Linked DNA regions of Homo sapiens: region 1 is linked to region 2. The links are contacts of gene promoters, found by promoter capture Hi-C in human tissues and cell types (Jung and others, 2019). All regions are on one chromosome and are shown on one strand. Each heading gives the region's core, a stretch centred on a gene start or on the middle of the fragment in contact. The rest is flanking DNA. Distances are from core to core; before and after follow the strand shown. Region 1 holds the start of FAAP20 (FA core complex associated protein 20). Region 2 holds the start of TNFRSF14 (TNF receptor superfamily member 14).

The links. Contacts are between HindIII fragments. The study calls those that stand out against the background at their distance.
Region 1: a fragment that was not itself captured here is called in contact with the fragment with the promoter of TNFRSF14 in region 2 in 1 of the 25 tissues and cell types used here (dorsolateral prefrontal cortex).

The regions. Positions count from the first base shown.
Region 1 is chr1:2,193,187-2,195,886 of GRCh38, reverse strand. It overlaps FAAP20 (FA core complex associated protein 20), which reads left to right and starts at 1,115. Exons shown (of 4, transcript NM_182533.4): 1 at 1,115-1,199; 2 at 1,754-1,889; 3 at 1,977-2,248. The coding sequence starts at 1,138. RefSeq lists an enhancer at 1-147 and silencers at 781-1,260, 1,271-1,360. The HindIII fragment of the contact is 5,508 bases long and covers 1-2,700 here.
Region 2 is chr1:2,554,974-2,557,673 of GRCh38, reverse strand. It overlaps TNFRSF14 (TNF receptor superfamily member 14), which reads right to left and starts at 1,303. Exons shown (of 8, transcript NM_003820.4): 1 at 941-1,303. The coding sequence starts at 1,009. TNFRSF14-AS1 (TNFRSF14 antisense RNA 1) reads left to right here and starts at 663. Exons shown (of 7, transcript NR_037844.2): 1 at 663-697; 2 at 978-2,700. The HindIII fragment of the contact is 19,271 bases long and covers 1-2,700 here.

The DNA of each region.
Region 1 (2,700 bases), core at 118-2,617, 360 kb after region 2:
TGTTCTGCTGGGGGCCTCCAGCATCTAGAGCAGGAAGGTGTGCGGAAGAAAACCACTCATGCAGGGAGAGGGGGACCTCCCAGTCCAGGCCCTGCTGCTGACCCTTTCCCTGAACACCAACCTATGGCCTCCAGGCTGGGGCCCCTTGAAGGACGGTGGGCCACTCGGGTGGCCTGGGTTCAGGGCCGGGCTCCACAGCTGAGTTCTGGAGGGAGGGCACAGACGACTGGGGGCTGGGAGGGGCCAGGTGAGGGGTAGGAACAGCCAGGGAGCCCTGCAGGAGGGGTGCCCAGCATAGCCCCAAAGCTGCTGGGGCTGGGCAGGGCAGAAACTGCCAAGGAGTCCCAGAGCCCTGAGTGGCGTCTGGCGAGGGCCCCTGACCCTGATCTCTGTAGACCCCACTCCTTCCGTGAGGGTGGCAGCCACTCCAGGGCCCAGCAGGGCCAAGGGAGAGGCAAGTGGCCTGGGCCCATGGGGCACTGGGCACAGCCAAGTGTGGCACCAGGGTGCCTGGGCGGCTGCTGCCACCACGTGGCCGACTTTGAGGTCGCAGAGCCCGGGGTCCAGGCAGGAAAGCCCCTCAGCTGCCCCCAGGGCCCTGGCCCAGGCCCCTGAGGCCCAAGTGAGCCACCTGGACTTTGTCACTTCGCCTCTGGTTTCTTGGTTAAGGAGCTTGAGTTCCCCGCCTTTTGTAAAGAAACGGTGGTGGCGACGGCGGATTTCAAGCTTTATTTACTCCTGGAATGGTCCTGGGAGGAGAGGCGGCTCCGCAGAGCCGGAAACGGGGGCGGGAGCTGTTGGGTGCAGCCGGGAGGAGGCAGTGCCGGGGCGGGCCGGGCAGCCATCGGGGTAACGGAGGGGGCTCCGGCCCGGGGGCTGCCCGGACGGGAAAGGGGACACGGGCGGGGCTCCCCCACCTGGGCCCCCCACCCTCACGCCAGGCCCCCCTGTGCGGTGCAGGACGAAGGAACCCTGGCCTCAGTTTCCCTACAGGCTGGGATCAGGGCCCCTGGGGTTCCGACTGTCTCGGAGGGGGGCGGCCTCGCTGCAGAGGTCTGGAGGCGGGGCCGGGGCGGGGGCGGGGCCTGGAGGGGCGGGGGCGGGGCTTGCGCTCACTTCCGCCCGGCGCGGGCTTGGATGGAGGCGGCGCGGAGGCCGCGGCTGGGGTTGAGCCGCCGGAGGCCGCGCCCGGCGGGCGGGTGAGGCCGGGAGCCGGGCGGGGGCGCGGCCGGTTTTCCCGCTCCCACGTGCTTCCCGGCGCCCCCGCGGGCCTCCCGCTCTATTCTCCCCCTGGGGAGGGCTCCCTGCCCCCGGGCCCGGCCCCCACGCCCGTCGCCCCACCCCGCGCCGCCATTCAGCGCCCGCCTTGAGCCCCCACCCCACGCCGAGCTTCCCCCGCGCCGCCCCAGGCCCTCCCGCGCCTCTCCCATCATCGCGTCTCCCCTGAGCACCCCCCATCTAACCCTCTACCTTCCCCAGGCCCTCCGCAATCTCCCCAACCATCGCCTCATCCCGCTGAGGACCCCATATTTCCACCCACCCACCCCGCTCCCCCACCCCCAGTACCCCTCATCTCCGCACTGTCTGCCCCAGCAGCCCTTCCCCCAACCCTGCCGGCCACCTCCCGCACCATCGAATTTCCCTCTAGTACCCCCCATCTCCCCGCTCTCTCTGCCCCAGGCCCTCCCGGGTCTCCCCACCATAGCGTTTCCGCTACTGAGTACCCCCTGTCTGCCCTCTCTGTCTGCCCCAGGCCTTCTGGCGGCCGCCCCTGGTTTCTCCTGGGGGGTGATGAGCGGGAGCGGCTCTGGGCCGAGCTACTGCGCACGGTGAGCCCGGAGCTGATCCTGGATCACGAGGTGCCTTCACTGCCCGCCTTCCCAGGACAGGTGTGCCCACTGGGCCCATCTTAGCGATGAAGGGGTTTCCAGGGCGGGAGCCATCGCTGGGCAAGGCCCAACAACTCTGTGTTGCAGGAGCCCAGGTGCGGCCCGGAGCCCACTGAAGTCTTCACTGTCGGACCCAAGACCTTTTCCTGGACACCCTTTCCGCCGGACCTGTGGGGCCCGGGCCGTTCCTACCGGCTGCTTCACGGGGCAGGAGGGCACCTGGAATCCCCCGCCAGGTCCCTGCCCCAGCGCCCGGCACCTGATCCCTGCAGGGCCCCCAGGGTGGAGCAGCAGCCGTCTGTGGAGGGTGCCGCGGCCCTGCGCAGCTGCCCCATGTGCCAGAAGGAGTTCGCCCCCAGGTGAGTAGGCCACCCCTGCGCCCGGCCCGGTTATCCATCCGTGTTTGGAAACCACAGCCGTTCAGAAGGTCAAGAGGTGGCCGAGCTCAGCGCTGGCTTTTAAAGCCCTGTTTCACACTGGAAAGGTGGCCCAGTGCTGTGGCCTGGCATGTCCAGGTGGCTCTCTGTCACGGGTCTGGGGTCCACCTGCTTGCCGTGCTCTGTGGGCAGGGCAGGCTGGGGGCCCACAGAACAGCACAGAAGGAAGGCTGGGAGCACTGGCCCCGGGTCCACCTGGCCATCCTGGAATCTGGTGGCACCAGCGTCCCCAGGCCCAGAGCACAGGAACACCTTCCCGAGAGTGCGTCATGGGTTTTAAAAATGAAGATCGTCTTTTTTGTCTGGAGATGCTTTTTCTTATTTTTGAAACCCAACGTATATTTTTATGTATTTTTTAAGTAAAGGGGAATGGA
Region 2 (2,700 bases), core at 54-2,553:
TGCCAGGCTTGGCCCCACAGCCTGAATCTCCCTCTGTGCAATGGGGAGGAGCGGCAGTGCCTGGTAGAGAGGACAGAAGCGGGCCCCAGGCCAGGCTCATGGAACAACCTTGCCGACCGCTGGAGCCCGGGATAGGGTGGGGACCGCCCCTCCTCCAGCCCTGATGACGCTGCCTGGCAGCGCGGAGCCCTGGGAACTGGAACTCTGCCCTCGCCAGGGACCCCACACCCCACACCTGGGAGCATTGAGCCCACTGGGCAGACAACCTGCCGGCCCCCCTGCTGGCCTAGGTTGGACCTGCTGACCCCTGAAGAGCCAGCAGGGGCAGCCAGGGATGGGCCCCAGAGGCTCACAAGCCAGACAGTGGGTGACAGGCTGATCAGGGCCACATCGGGGAGGGTGGCTCTGCCGTGGCCTCGTTCCTGGGCTGGCTGATGGGCAGTCGGGGGCCCCTGATGGGGATAGTGGCTGGACAGGCAGGAGTGCCACATGAGCATGGAGAGTATCCCCACCCCACCCACCTGGGTCCAGCCCCCTGCTGCACACTGATCTTATCACCTGTCACCAAGGTCAGGGCTGCCGGGGAGTTGGGTCACCTGCTCGAGGGCCCCGCCCAGAGACGCCCAGAGACACCCAGCCCCCAGAAGTGCCCACATCCGGCCAAATGGGGGCTCACCAGCTGCCCGTGGACGGAGTGGTGAGTGGGGGACACACGCAGGAGGAGGTCTGCTGGGTAGGGCTGTGGCTCTGCTGCTCACCCCACTGTGGTGAGCCCAGTGCTGGGGGTCTGGGTTGACCCGAGAGCCCCAGGCAGCAGGGGACGGGCTGGACGCCGGAGCCAGCAACGGCCAGGACAGGGGCATGGGGAAGAGATCTGTGGGAGGCCCTGGGGTCAGAACTGGGATCTGCGAGCAGACGGAGAGGAGGCTCGGGGGCTCACCAGCCTCAAGACGTCGGTTTTGGGGGTGGATCTCCAGGGAGGAGGCCCCCAGTCTCCAGGAGGCTCCATGCCTCAGGCTCAGACCGGCAGCTCGGGAACCCAGCTAGCAGGATGAACTCCAGCAGAGGAACTCAGCGCCATTGCTGCGGCTGTGGGCCAGAAGAGAAAGAGAAAGAGAAAGAGAATCCGCCTCGGTGTGACAAGCTGTGCCTCAGAACCCGAGCAGCAGGAGAGTGGGCAGCAGGGGGTGTCTGGCAGCAGAGAGGGGCTCAGGCCTGCTGGGTGGAGCGGCGCTGGGGGACACAGGTGGGCCCTGCGGGAGGCAGGAGCTGTCCAGGCAAAGCCGAGGGGAAGGGCCGGTATGAAGGAGGCGCCCGATGGGAGGGGCGAGTTCTCCCCCTGCACCATTCCAGTCCACTCCGGGTTTCCTGTAGAAGGGGGAGCCCCCCAAAGTCCATCTGTGTTTCCCCACCTCACTCACACACTCAGGGACCCTCGGCTGCTCCCCGGGGCGCTGACTGACATTTTTGCCGAATAAAGGGGCCCTGTGGGTTTCCTGTTCCCATCTCAGCTTCTGCTGAACAGGGTAAACTTCCCTTCCGAATAAAACCACCAGAATGCGGTCTGGCCAATTTCAGTCATAGACCCACCAGGCCTGTGTCCCTGCGTGAGGGGGTGGGAAAAGCCCAGAGTGCCCCTACCCGTCCCCTGGGAGGGGTGGAAGGGCAGCTCTTGCTCCCCCTGCAGAGACGCTGCGCGGACTGGGAAGGCTGCCAGCCTCGCCCGGTCTCCCTGTGGACCCTGCCCTGACCCCACCCCAGCTTCCTGGCTCCCTGCACCCCACTGGGCTTCCCTGCCCCACAGAGCCTGGTGGTAGGGAGACCTCCGGATGGAGACAGCCCACAGTCCCGGAGCCCCAAGGCAGGCACCAGTGAGTCCCTCGTGACGGCCTCGCTCCCTGCATCACATGGAACCTCGTGACCCACGTGACGACGCCAGTGCCCCCGTGGCCCCTTCCTGCTGCTGGACGTGATGCAGTCAATGGAAGCCCAGGTCTGTCACGCACCGCCTGTGCTTGCCCAGAGCAGGTCCCAGTCACCCCCTCTGGCACCGCCTGCTGCACACCAGGAACCCCCACCTCCAGCAAGCCCATCTGCCAGACGCCTGGCCCAGGACCGCCCCCTGCCCCTCGACTGCCCCCTGCCCCTCCTGGTCCTGACTTCAGCCAGGTGACCCCCTCCAGGGTCCAGCCCTGGCCCCTGGGGGACTCAGTGGCATCTGGTGGAAAGGACCTTGGGGATTGCGCCCACCCTCACCTGCAGGAGAGTTGGCAGGGTGGCCAGCCACAGGAATCTGTGGCAGGAGCCCGGGGACCTGCACCCCAACTAGAAAGTGTGCAGCCCTGCAGGCCGGCCCTGGAGAGGGAGCAGGCAGGGGTGAAGTTAGGCCGGCTGTGGTGTGCGACACCGTCCTGTGGGGCCAAGCGTCCCGAGCTCCAGAGGCAGGTGCACTCCTGGCCAGCATCCAGGGTGGACGAGCCCAGACCCCAATACTCTGAGGCAGGGTGGGGGACCAGGTGGCACCCAGTGGAGGAAAAGCCCCCAAGAGACACGCAGGAGCATGGACTCCCACCCCACAGCTGGAGCCTGGGAGAGGAGCCCCATCTGCTGTTTCCCTGGTGCACTCACATCCTGGCCCTCAGCGCCCCCTGCCAGGAATGTCCCCCACATGCAGAGCCATGTGGGTCTTGCAAGGAAGAA